3 separate regions of the Homo sapiens genome follow, and regions 2 and 3 are each linked to region 1. Evidence: promoter capture Hi-C in human tissues and cell types (Jung and others, 2019). All regions are on one chromosome and are shown on one strand. Each heading gives the region's core, a stretch centred on a gene start or on the middle of the fragment in contact. The rest is flanking DNA. Distances are from core to core; before and after follow the strand shown. Region 1 holds the start of WEE1 (WEE1 G2 checkpoint kinase). Region 2 overlaps SBF2 (SET binding factor 2). Region 3 holds the start of RNF141 (ring finger protein 141).

Region 1 (3,852 bases), core at 735-3,234:
AAAGAATATAAATGCTGCCTAAAACTAAGTTCATTCTAGTGGCTAAAAGTTAACAAATTCTTTCAACCCATCCAAAAATAGAAAGCAGTCCGAGAGCCCCATAAAATCTCCCCTCCCCCATCTAGATAGGGCTTCCATAGCCACCTCCGCTGGACTCCTCCCCTCACTTCCAGAGGGATTTTGCCTTGAGCAAGTCGGCCAATAAACAGTACAGCTCGAAAGCACACAGATTGCCTAGGCTGATGACAAACAGTACATTGAAAACAAAACAAACTCACTTTAAAAGGTGCATCTTCCCTGTTAACCTTACAAATGCGAGGCTTGTCTTAATCTCTGGAAGTATCAGCTTTAAAATCTGCAGTTTTAAAAGTGGTCATCTGCGCAGTACTCGAAGGCCTTTCAAAACACAGGTGCTGAACACCTCCTTCTTTAAGATACCTTATCTACGGTAGGATGTTCCTAATCACACGGAGGCCGGCCAAACTCTGGGCACCGCAAACCCACGATAAAAACAAATGCTGGGCCAAGACCTTGTCCAGAAACAGGCCTCAGTACTGCCTGGACTTAGGATGAGTCTGTAGGACTGTAAATGCTTGGAAGGCCAGCCTTTACTCCCAAGTCCAAGCGTAGTCTCCCTGCATGCCCCAGACCTTTCCCCCATCCACGCCACACGACACGACACGATCAGGGCGGGACAATTATTTTTCTTTAAACTCCTTCTGCCCGCGCCGCCCAAATTACAGGCCCGATCGCCGCGTTTAAAAGGCATCCTATGGCTCGGGAGTGTCAGGTGGCCGGGCCGGCACCCTCCAGCATCCTCGCGAACCGCGTTATCGGTGCCGCACTCGGGGCTGACACGCTCGGGGCGGCCCGGACTCAACGGGCGGCAAATCCTTGGCCACCCGGACGGGCCGATCGGCCCCTTTGTAAGATGAAGTTCCAGACGAGGCCCATTGTTCAGTTACATAATCTCAACGGACAACCTCGGGGCAGGGCCAAACACAAGGGCTGCCAACTTTGGGGGGCGGCGCAGGAAAGCGAGGGGGGAGCGGCCGGCCGCTTCTGTAACCGAACCCAGGCAGCGGCGCTGGCCCCTCCGGCGCCGCGGCCCCGGCCGCCGGGTGCCCGCGCCCGCCGCTCTCACCTTGGGCGTGTGCGGGGTGTCGAAGAGTCGCAGCTTGCGGAAGGTCTTGTGTGGCGGGGTGCCCGGGTGGTCCGGCCGCGGCGAGCGGCGGCCTTCGCCCGCCCGGCGCGCCCCGCAACCCCGCGGCGACGCATCTCCTGGGCCGCCGCAGCGCACCGGCGAGAAAGAGCTACCCAGGAAGTAGGGGGCCGCCGGCGACTTGACCGGCGACGAGGAGCCGAAGCCCTCCTCCTCCCACGAGTCGCCCTCCGCCCCACCGCCCGCCTCGTCCGCGCCCGGGCAGGCGCCGGGCAGCAACAGGTCCTCCTCCAGCTCGCCGGGGCTGCCGGGGGCCGGCCCGGGCGAGCGGCGGCGCTCGGGCCCGGGCTCCGTGGGGCTCCGCGCGGGCGGCAGCGGCGAGTCGGGCTCTTGAAAGGCCGAGTCCTCCCCGGTGCTGTGGCCGCTGCCCTCCTCCTCCTCCTCTTCTTCCTCCTCCTCACAGTCGCTGCAGGGCGAGAAGATCAGCTTCTGCCGCAAGGTGCAGGCCGCCCCGGCGCGGCGGGGTGGCGGCGGCTGCTGTCGGCTCAGGAAGCTCATCGCGGCCCTGGGGACGGGGCCGAGGACAGGAGAGCGGAGGCCTGCGGGGTCCAGGACACTGCGGGCCTGGGGGCGGGTCCGCCACGTGCGGCTGGGCGCGCCTAGTCGCAGCCGCGGCGTCTCTGCGCGGCGGCGGCCTGCGGCTCCGGGGCGCTCGGGCTGCGGACGGTGGCGGCAGCGGCGGCGCGGACTTTCCGGCAGAGGCGGGGCGGCCCGAGCACCGAGGCTGAGGTCTCCTCAGGTCCAGTCTCAGGTTCGGGCTCCGCGGCTTCCCGCGACCGTTAACCACGTGAGTGCCCAGTCCACCAATCCCAGTGCAGCTCCGGGTTTGAAAAAAAAAGGAGGGCGCGACGTAGCCCGCGGGGGAAGGACCAGCTACGCGATTTTGGCGGGAACCCGCTGGCTCCACCCCCGGCTCGGCGCCAGCCAAGTCTGGGCGGGCTGTGGTGTTCCGGGCCTATGAGCGAGCCTGGGGCGGCGGGGGGCCCGGCCCGGCGCCGCCCGAACACCGCCCGGACGGGGCTGGGCCTTCTGGGAGGGGCAAAAGAGAGCTGGATTCGCCTAAGCCGACCCGAAAGCCGGCCTGGACGCACCCCCCTCGCTGCTCCTCCGGTGCTGGGGGATCTGAAGAGGGGCAGGCGGCCGGGCAGCGCCTCCGGGTCTCTGCGAGCTGGGAAGAGCCAGGGACCGAATGGCCTTCGGCCGCTGCCCTCGGAGGCCGCTTCTTGCCCCTCGTCCCCTGGGGCGAGCCACTGGGGCGTAGTGGGCGTGGCAGTGGGCAGCCACGTTCAGGGTCGAGGTCTGAGCCGGAAATGGTGACTCGGGCCTCGGGACCTTTCTGAACTGCGGGAGCCGATGTGCTTAGGCTGGACACTGGCTGGGAGGAGGCCTCCGAGCCCCATTATTTCCCCGGGGTGGGTGACTGTTAGGGGCGGGTGTCAGCACAGCGAGAAGAGCTCTCCCAAGCAGGGGTCCACCTCTGCCGACCTTGTCCGCGGCCAAAAGAAACAGCAGCACAGTTGCCCACCACGAAACCAAGTGCCCGGCACACGATCTCCGTGTTTACATTTGTTCGCCAGCACGTGGGCATGCGTTGGCAAAACCGATTGGCCCGGCTCGCGGCAAACTCAAACGCAATTTTAAAAAATTTCCCTAGTGCTTCGTTAAACTGATTTAATCTGTCCCTTAATGCACTTACACGTTTCTTCCAGTTTTCTTTTTTCTTTCTTTGTTTATTTATTTTTTTTTTTTTTTCTGAGACGGGGTCTTGCTCTGTCACCCAGGCTGGAGTGCAGTGGCACGATCTCGGCTCACTACAACCTGCAACCTCCGCCTTTAGAGTTCAAGCGATTCTCATGCCTCAGCCACCCGAGTAGCTGGGATTACAGGCGGCTGCCACCACACCTGGCTAATTTTTGTATTTTTAGTAGAGACGAACTTCCCAATGTTGGCCAGGCTGGTCTCCAACTCCTGATCTCAAGTGATCCGCCCGCCTCGGCCTCTCAAAGTGCTGGAATTACAGACGTGAACCACCGCTCCCGGCCTCTTCCAGTTTTCTGTTGTAAACAACCCCGTGGTGTATATGCTTCCTTCTCCATGTTTTTTGTTTGGTTTGGTTTTTTTCGACACGGAGTCTCGCTCTGTCGCCCCAGGCTGGAGTGCAGTGGCGCGATCTCGGCTCACTGCAGCCCCCACCTCCCGGGTTCTCGGGTTCCAGCGATTCTCCTGTCTCCCGGGTAGCTGGTATTACAAGCACATACCAGGCCTGGCCAATTTTTGTATTTTTACAAAATGCAAAATACGGAGTTTCACCATGTTGGCAGGCTGGTCTCAAACTCCTGACCTCAGGTGATCTGCCCGCCTCGGCCTCCCAAAGTGCTAGGATTACAGGCGTGAGCCACCGCGCCTGGCCTTTTTAAAATACTCTTTTGGATACCTCCCTGGAGTTAGAATTCCTCAGTCAAAGGATATAAACTGGCAAACTCCCCCTCCAGAAACACAATACATTCTCACTAGCAGTGGATTAGAGCACACTCTGTGAATTCAGGACATCAGTGGATGTTCGTTGATGTGGTTTTGTTGTTTTGATTCATATTGTTGAACAGTTGTCATGGGTTTAATGATAATTTACA
Region 2 (3,826 bases), core at 1,083-3,582, 710 kb before region 1:
ACCCCACACAGCTGCAGCTGCCCAAGCTGGGGCTGTGGACCAAGGCCTCTTTGCACTCTCAGGGGCCAGGGAAGGCATCCCTCCTGCCCTTGTAGGCTTGGAGGCGCCTGCTCCAATCTCGGAGCGGGGTTGGGGCCAAGCCAGGGTGCTGTCACAGCGCCCCCGGGTGTGTACACACTTAGGTCAGCGCTGACACACTGGGCCCCTGCCTCCTCAGCCCCCTCTGGACTTTGGGCCCTGACAAGCACCGTGGGAGGGGTTTGAGGGAGGTTTGGTGCTGGCCTGCAGGTACCCCTTGAAGCGAGAAGCCTGGGCGTCGTGGATGGCGGAAGGGGGCAGGTCTCTGGTGAGGCCCCACCTTCAGGCCGGGGAGGGCTTGAAGACTGGGGGCCCAGCTGCCAGTCCTATGGACTAGAGCGAGGACTTGTGGTACCTTTTCTGGGCCCACCTATGGACAATTGGTGTGCACTTTGTCCCCTCTGAGGCCCATAAAAGTTGCAGGCTCAGCCCAGAGCAGAGCAGAGGATGGAGAGATGATGGGACAACCAGTTACAGAGAGGAGTTACCCTCTCTGCTGATAGATGCAGAGATGATGGGACAACCTGCCTAAAGAGAGGAGCTTCCCACTGTAGGGCCTCCTCTCTGCTGAGAGCTGAAGAGATGATGGGACAATCTGCCTGCAGAGAGGAGCCACCCATTCTAGTCTAGGACCTCTCTGCTGAGAGCTGCAGACAGCAGGACAACCAGCTGCAGAGAGGAGCTGCCCTCTCTGCTGATAGCTGAACACCTGTTGGGATGACCAGCTGCAGAGAGGAGCCACTCTCACTGCTGAGAAAATACTTGCTGGGGTGACCTGCCTGCATAAAGGAGCTACCCTCTCTGCTAGGAGCTGAACACTCATCAGGATACCCTTGCTACAGAGAAGAGCTGTCCACTGTGGGTCTTTGAGCTGTTCTATTGCTCAGTAAAGTTCCTCTTTGTCTTGCTCACCCTCCATTTGTTGTCTGAGGACCTCATTCTTCCTGGTCACAGAACAAGAACTTGGGACCCTTGAATGGTGAGGGTAAAAGAGCTCTAACACAAGCAGAGCTGAAACATGCCCCTTGCTCACCATGTTGCAGGTGAAGGAAGGGAGATAAGAGCTGTGGCCCTTCTGGGAGCCCAGACCTGGGAGCTCCCCAAGCTAGGGCTGTGACTCCTTCTTTGGGGCCCTGTGGTTCCTGGCATCTTCAAGCTTCTGAGTGCCACTACATTCCCCGGTGCCGGCCGGGGAAGCTGTTTGTGGTGCAACTGGTCCAGCCACAGCCTCGCAGAGAGCTGGCACTTATGCCAGCACCTGGAGCTGCCCACCCTGTGGCAGCAGCTGACATGTCTGACTGGGCAATGGCCAGACTGTACGCTCGCTTACACACCCCTCACCACTCCACGCCTGACTCCAGTCTTTCTTGGAGGCATGGGATCCAGGCTGGTAGCGTGAGCTGAGTGTAGCCTACAAGGCCGAGTGGGTGGGAATGAGGCTAGCAGGTCTGAGCAAAACTCAGGCAGAGGTGCCACCAGCCACAGGTTTCTGGCCAGAAAAGTGACACCCTAAAGATCCCATAACAATATCTAATAAAGTATAAATTACATGCAATAAAATTTACTCTTTTAAGTGAACATTTCAGTGAGTTTTGACAAATACATACATTAGTGTAGCCACTACTGCAATCAAGATATAGATATAGGGCTGGCCGCTGTGGCTCATATCTATAATGGCAATGCTTTGGGAGGCTGAGGCTGGAGGATTGCTTTAGACCAGGAGTTTGAGACCAGCCTGTGCCACATGGTGAGCCCCATCTTTGAAAAAAAAAAATAGCCTGGCGTGGTGACACATGTCTGTAGTTCCAGCTACTTCGGATGCTAAGATGGGAGGACTGCTTGAACCTAGGAGTTCGAAGCTGCAGTGAGTCATGATCACTCTACTGTATTCCAGCCTGAGTGACAGATTGAGACTCTGTTTCTAAAAATAGGTAGATAGATAGATAGATAGGGAACATTTTCATGCTTCCAAAAAGTTCTCTCATGCCTCTTTGTAGTCAGTTCCCTTTCTAGCATCTGGCAGTCACTGATCTGTTTTCTGTCTGTATGTTTTTGTCTTTTCTAGAATGTCATATAAATAGTATACAGTTTTTTGTGTCTAACTTTTTTCACTTAGGATCATACAGTTGAGATTTATCTATGTTGAATTTATTGGCAGTTGTTCCTTTTTATTGCTTAGTATGATACGATTTATCCATTCACCAGTTGAAGGACACTTGAATTTCTAGTTTTGGGCTATGGTGAACATAATTGTTCTGAACATTTGCATACAGATCTTTGAATGTTTTCATGTTCATGTTTTTATTTCTCTTGGGTAAATACGTAGGAGAAGAATTGCTAGGTCATAAGTGTCTTATTTGTGTGAGACTGACAAACTTTTCTAATTGGCTGTGCCATTTTACATTTTCACTAGCAATGTATGAGAGTTTCAGTTATTCTTTTTAAATTTAATTTATTACTTAAAAATATTTTTGGTTGCTCTGCCTGTGGAGTAGCCATTTTTTGTTAACTTCTCTAATAAACTTGCCTTCACTAAAAAGACAAAAAAACAAAAAACAAAAACAGGCTGGGTGCCGTGGCTCACACTTATAATCTCACCACTTTGGGAGGCCAAGGTGGGTGGATCACGAGGTCAGGAGAACGAGACCATCCTGGCCAACATGGTGAAACCCCGTCTCTCCTAAAAATACAAAAATTAGCTGAGTGTGGTGGCGTGCACCTGTAATCCCAGCTACGTGGGAGGCTGAGGCAGGAGAATGGCTTGAACTCAGGAGGCAGAGATTGCAGTGAGCCGAGATCGCAGTGAGCCGAGATCGCACAACTGCACTACAGCCTGGCGACAGAGCAAGACTGTCTCAAAAAAAAAAAAACCAAAGAACAAAAACTTCCTCTAGCTTTATTGAGATATAATTTACAAATAAAAATCATATATATTTATGGTGGACAGCGTGATGTTTTATGTATACATTGTGAAATGATTACCACAGTCAAGGTAATTAACATATCCATCACTTCACATAGTTACCGTGTGTGTGTGTGTGTGTGTGTGTGTGTGCGTGTGCGTGTTTATGTGAAGAAATTTAAAATCTCTTTTGGCTGGGCGTGGTAGCTCACGCCTGTAATCCCATCACTATGGGAGGCTGAGGTGGGTGGATTGCTTGAGTCCAGGAGTTTGAGACCAGCCTGGGCAACAGGCTTTTTTCTCCAAAAAAAAGATCTACTCTCTTAACATACCTCATTTGTGGTTTTAATTTGCGTTTTCCTGGTGACTAATAATGCTGAACACCTTTTCGGGTGCTTGTTGCCATTTGTGTATTTTTTTGTAAAGTGTCTGATCAAATTTGTGCTCTTTTTTATTGGGTTGTTTGACTTCTTACTGTTATTGGTGGAGGGTGTCCAGGTTCTTGGTGTTTTGAAGAAAGAATTGGACAAAATGCACAAACAAAGCAATGACAGAAAATTACAGATTTATTGAAATGAAAGTACACTCCACAGGGTGGGAATGGGCTTGAGCAAGCAGCTTGAGAGTGCTGGTTACAGAATTTTCTGGGGTTTAAATACCCTCTAGAGGATTCCCATTGGTTATGCAGTGTATGCCTTATGTAAATGAAGAGGATGAAGTGAAGTTACAAAGTTATTTACTTGGTGTACACCCTATGCAAATAAAGAGGATGTTTCCTGACATAGCTGAAGGGAAATTACACAATTATTTACTTGGATGTAGAAAGTTGGGGTTTTTCTGTTTGAT
Region 3 (4,196 bases), core at 769-3,268, 970 kb before region 1:
CCAGGTCACCCAAGTGGTGAACATAGTACCCAATAGTAGTTTTTTCTACCCTTTTGGAATCCCCAGTGTTTATTGTTCCCAACTTTGTGTCTGTGTACTCAACGTTTAGCTCCTACTTATAAGTGAGAACATGCGGTATTTGGTTTCCTGTTTCTGCATTATTTTGCTTAGGACAATGGCCTCCAGCTGTATTCATGTTGCTGCAAAAGATATGATCTAGTCCTTTTTGTGGTTGTATAGTATTCCATGGCGTATATGTACCACACTTTCTTTATCCAATCCACTATTGATAAGCACCTGGGTTGATTCCATGTCTTTGCTATTCCATAATATTTTATAGTTTTCAGTATACATGTCTTTCTCATCTTTGGTCAAATTTGTCCCAAATTTGCTGCTTTTTTTTTTTTTTTTTTTTTTGCTGATAAGAGATATTTAAAAATTTTCCATTTCTAATTGTTCATTGCTAGTATATAGAAATACAACTGATTTTTGTATATTTGATTTTGTATCTTGCAACTTTTGTAAACTCACTTATGAGTTCTAGCAGCTTTTTTGTAGTATTCCACAATTTTCTTATGCAAATAAATGCAGTGCTACAACTTCCTTTCCAACTTGGATGCCTTTTATATATTTGTCTTTTTTTATTTCATTGACCAGAACTTCCAATACAATGTTTAATTGAAGGCAATTTTTACAGAGTAATATTTCTAACTCCCAGGCCCGGATTAGGCTGAACTATGGAATCTTGTTGAATTTGATATCTTTTGGAATTTATTAAATCATTATTTATACTTCATTTTTAAGCTTTTTCCTTTTCCAGTGTTCAAATATTCATCAAATGTTCAAATATTGAACAAGTACCATGCTGGCTGTCAGGGAAATAATGGTGCACAAACAGGCATGGACCTAGCGCTAATGAAGTCTTACCGTACTACCGAGGCAGTTTAAAACAGGAATTAAAAACACAGGTTCAGGGTTCTGTCTGCTTGGGTTTGAATCTGGCTCTGCTCCTTAATGGTTGTTTGACCTTGGAAAAGTTAATCGACTTTTCTAAGCCTGTGTCTTAGTGAAGGTATTAATAATACCTACTCACAGGATTGCTGTGAAGATTAAACGAATTAATACCTTTAAAGTCCTTAAAATACGGTTTGACATATAGTAAATGGTCAAAGAGTATTATTATTAGAGGGAAGAATTAGCTCTTCACAAGGTGAATCTACAAGTGACTGGTGAAGGAGGGGTGTACAAACAAGAAACATAAAAACCAGTTTAACTGCTAAGCATAGAGGCAGCAGTGTCAGCTGTACCTGGGTTAAAATCCTTGCTCTGCTGTTTATTGTCTAGGCAACTTTGACCAGACGACTTAAACAAGAGCAATGCCCGTAAAGTGCCTAGTGCAGTATTTGGCACACAACAGATGCTTAAAAGACAGCAATTACTGATTCAGACGTCCCGCAGAGCAGTAATATCACTAACATGTGCTCATCATCATATCTATCATTTATCAAAGCTCAGGATTTTGAACCTTGTAATTACTTTTCATACATTCTCTTATGCTTAACAACTCGGCTAGGTGAACACAATCCATTGCCTCATAAAGAAACAAGATGACCTTTGTGTATCTATCATCAGTGGGGAGGCTGGAGGTCTGGGAAGTGGTACCTTGGAGCCCAACTGTTGACCAAACCAGGGCTCTCAGTGCGGCCTTGGTCGCCAGCGGGGCGCTCCACTTTCCGCTCCGGAGATGGCACCAGGAGAGATGGGAGTCTGCCAGGCTGTTTCCATGGCCACCTCATGAAGCCCCTGCTCCGGGAGCGTGACAGGCGAGACTCTCCTTCGCCGCCACCTCTCGTCTCAGATGACCATCTGGGCTCGAAAGCCCTCAGGAGCTGCGGAGCGCGGGTCGGTAGGGGCGCTGCAGAGGAAGGTTGGGCGCCGTCTCCCGGCAACGCGCGGGGGGCGGGGCTTTGCGTCACAGAGGTGCGACCGGGTCCCGGCCTGAGTCGCGGCCACCCGCAGGTCTGAGCTGTGGGCTGAGGCAGCGCAGCCGCTGCCGCAGGGTGCGCGATGCCTTGAACCTGGGGTGAGCTCCGCGGCGCTGTCCTTTCGTGTTTCCCTTGCTAGCTGCTCCAGGACTCTGGGTCTGGGAAGAGAAACCCCAGAGGGCCCTCCGCTGCCGAGCCAGGCTTCCGCGGGGAGACAGGCCTAGCCCCGCCGCCCTCCCCGGGCCTCGGATTGGGGCGTGGGGACGGCTGGGGAGGCCATTCTATTGACGCCCGTCTTCTGCCCGGCGGGTTCCAGTTGCCCGGGGTGGCGGTGGCTTGTCCCGCCTCGGGGTGGTTCTGAGGGACCCGGAGAGAGTTTTTCCTTCTCTATCCCAAAACGGTTGTTTGAATATTGCCGCCGGCTCAGTCATTCGGCCGCCGGACTTAGCTGTTGGTTAAATGTCCAGGTGCGCTTGAGGAGGGGCTGAGGCGGCGTAGCCAGAGCGAGCGCTAGGGTGGCCCGCGGGCTCGGTCTCCGCCGGGCTGGACACCCAAATAAGAAACCTTTTGCCTGGGACGATAGCTCAGAAATAGCCACGTCGATCTACTTAGCCAGCCCCACACTTATGAATTGGCTTAGGCTGCTACCCTTCCCAAAGGTCTTTCCTTGTCAAACTAGCTGCTACCTTGAGACCCGGCTAAGAAAAGAACGTTTTCTTGCTAATAATAAGAAGGTAGTGATTACACAGCAGGAGCAGAAGGCTTCTGTGTTAGCTTTTGAAATTATTCCTTCAGTTATTTGTCTCGGCGTTACAAAATGTGGATTTACGATTGTTATTGAAATCGATCCCTATGCCCCTTATTAAAGGTAGTGTACCTTTTATATTCTGACACTGTCCTATTTAGCGGTGCCAGCTAATTCAGTTCTTGCCTCTGGCATATATATAAAGCTGCTGGAACACTTTCAATTGTTTATAATTCTTACATCTTCAGCACGAATTTATTCGTTTTCACTCCCTTCTGCCCATTCTTCTTGCTATAAAATGACCTCTACCCATTCAGAATTTTGTCTGGGGGCATGAGCTGCCACCGGCCGACGATCCTAAATTAGTCACCTCCATGTCGAAGTCACCCGTCTGAGAAGTGATGCTTTCTGAATTCAGAGCTCAAAAATAGTATGGATTTTTATCCTTTTCTTTCACATTGCCTGACTTCAGTTTCTAGAACTTTTTCTCAAGAATATGACTATATGTTTCAAAAATTAATATTTGTCATTTGGTGTAAATGAACTTTATATTCGATGTGTGTAGCCTGATCCTTCTTGGTTCCCATCTAAATACAAACACGCTTTCCTTCCCAAAAAGGCAAGGGAGGTCCAGAGAGAATTCTTACAAGTCTAATATGCTTTTTCCAATATGAAATGCATTTAGTAAACACACTGTTACTGTGAGAAATCCATATTCTTAATCTCCTAGTACGGCACTCTATCCTTTTGTAGTTTCTCTCTCCTTCTCTCTCTAATATATATGTATGTATCTTTTTCTGATCAAGATCTTTGATTCTGGAACAGGCATTCTGGACTCTATAGTGACTCTGGCCTAATTATTTCACTATGTATCTATATTAACTTGTCTTGAAAAAAAAAAGTTGATATCTGTTTACAGATCTACAGTTTGAGTAAACAATGAGTAATAAAGTAAATAATATCCTTAGGGACCCAGTCAGTAGTACTTGGTATTTATTACTGATGTTAAAGTTGACTTGACAGTGAAAATCATTGATGTTTATTTCAATTAAATCCTTTTAGGTGAGGTTGATACAAAATTTGATGGAGAACTGGTTTCAGAGAGGTTTTTAAAATACTACAGTGCAGTACTTGTCATTTAGTCATTTTGGTGCATTTTCAGCCTTTTCCATTTTGCTTTAGTTATTTTATGAATGAATTATGGTTTAAATTTTTAGGAGTTTTTGAGCAGTTTTTTCGTTTTTGCTTTGCCAGTTACCCATGATGTAATTTTAATATTTTTATAAGGAATATTTGAACTTCCACAATTCATTTGTTAGAAAAATAAGTGATTCACTATGTACCACCCACTAGAGAATGTGGCATTTTTGGAATCCTTGATCTTGTGCATTTCAAAATAACAGTTCTTTATTTAGAAAATCCTTCAAATGCTTTTTGAAAGCATATTTTTATCTTGCAAAAAATGA

What was found. The method cuts DNA at HindIII sites, captures the fragments that hold promoters and counts their contacts. A contact is called where the count stands out against the background at its distance.
Region 2: a fragment that was not itself captured here is called in contact with the fragment with the promoter of WEE1 in region 1 in 1 of the 25 tissues and cell types used here (stomach).
Region 3: a contact is called between the fragment with the promoter of RNF141 here and the fragment with the promoter of WEE1 in region 1, in 1 of the 25 tissues and cell types used here (IMR-90 fibroblasts).

The regions. Positions count from the first base shown.
Region 1 is chr11:9,571,802-9,575,653 of GRCh38, reverse strand. WEE1 (WEE1 G2 checkpoint kinase) reads right to left here and starts at 1,984. Exons shown (of 11, transcript NM_003390.4): 1 at 1,145-1,984. The coding sequence starts at 1,720. RefSeq lists silencers at 1,362-1,461, 1,752-1,961, 1,982-2,331 and an enhancer at 1,906-2,758. The HindIII fragment of the contact is 20,198 bases long and covers 1-3,852 here.
Region 2 is chr11:10,285,474-10,289,299 of GRCh38, reverse strand. The region is part of intron 1 of SBF2 (SET binding factor 2); the gene reads left to right. Among named protein-coding and RNA genes, the nearest start is that of SBF2, 6.8 kb to the left of the region's middle. The HindIII fragment of the contact is 4,243 bases long and covers 211-3,826 here.
Region 3 is chr11:10,539,009-10,543,204 of GRCh38, reverse strand. It overlaps RNF141 (ring finger protein 141), which reads left to right and starts at 2,018. Exons shown (of 6, transcript NM_016422.4): 1 at 2,018-2,083. IRAG1-AS1 (IRAG1 antisense RNA 1) reads right to left here and starts at 1,969. Exons shown (of 4, transcript NR_046375.1): 1 at 1,663-1,969. RefSeq lists an enhancer at 1,833-1,942. The HindIII fragment of the contact is 8,088 bases long and covers 1-4,196 here.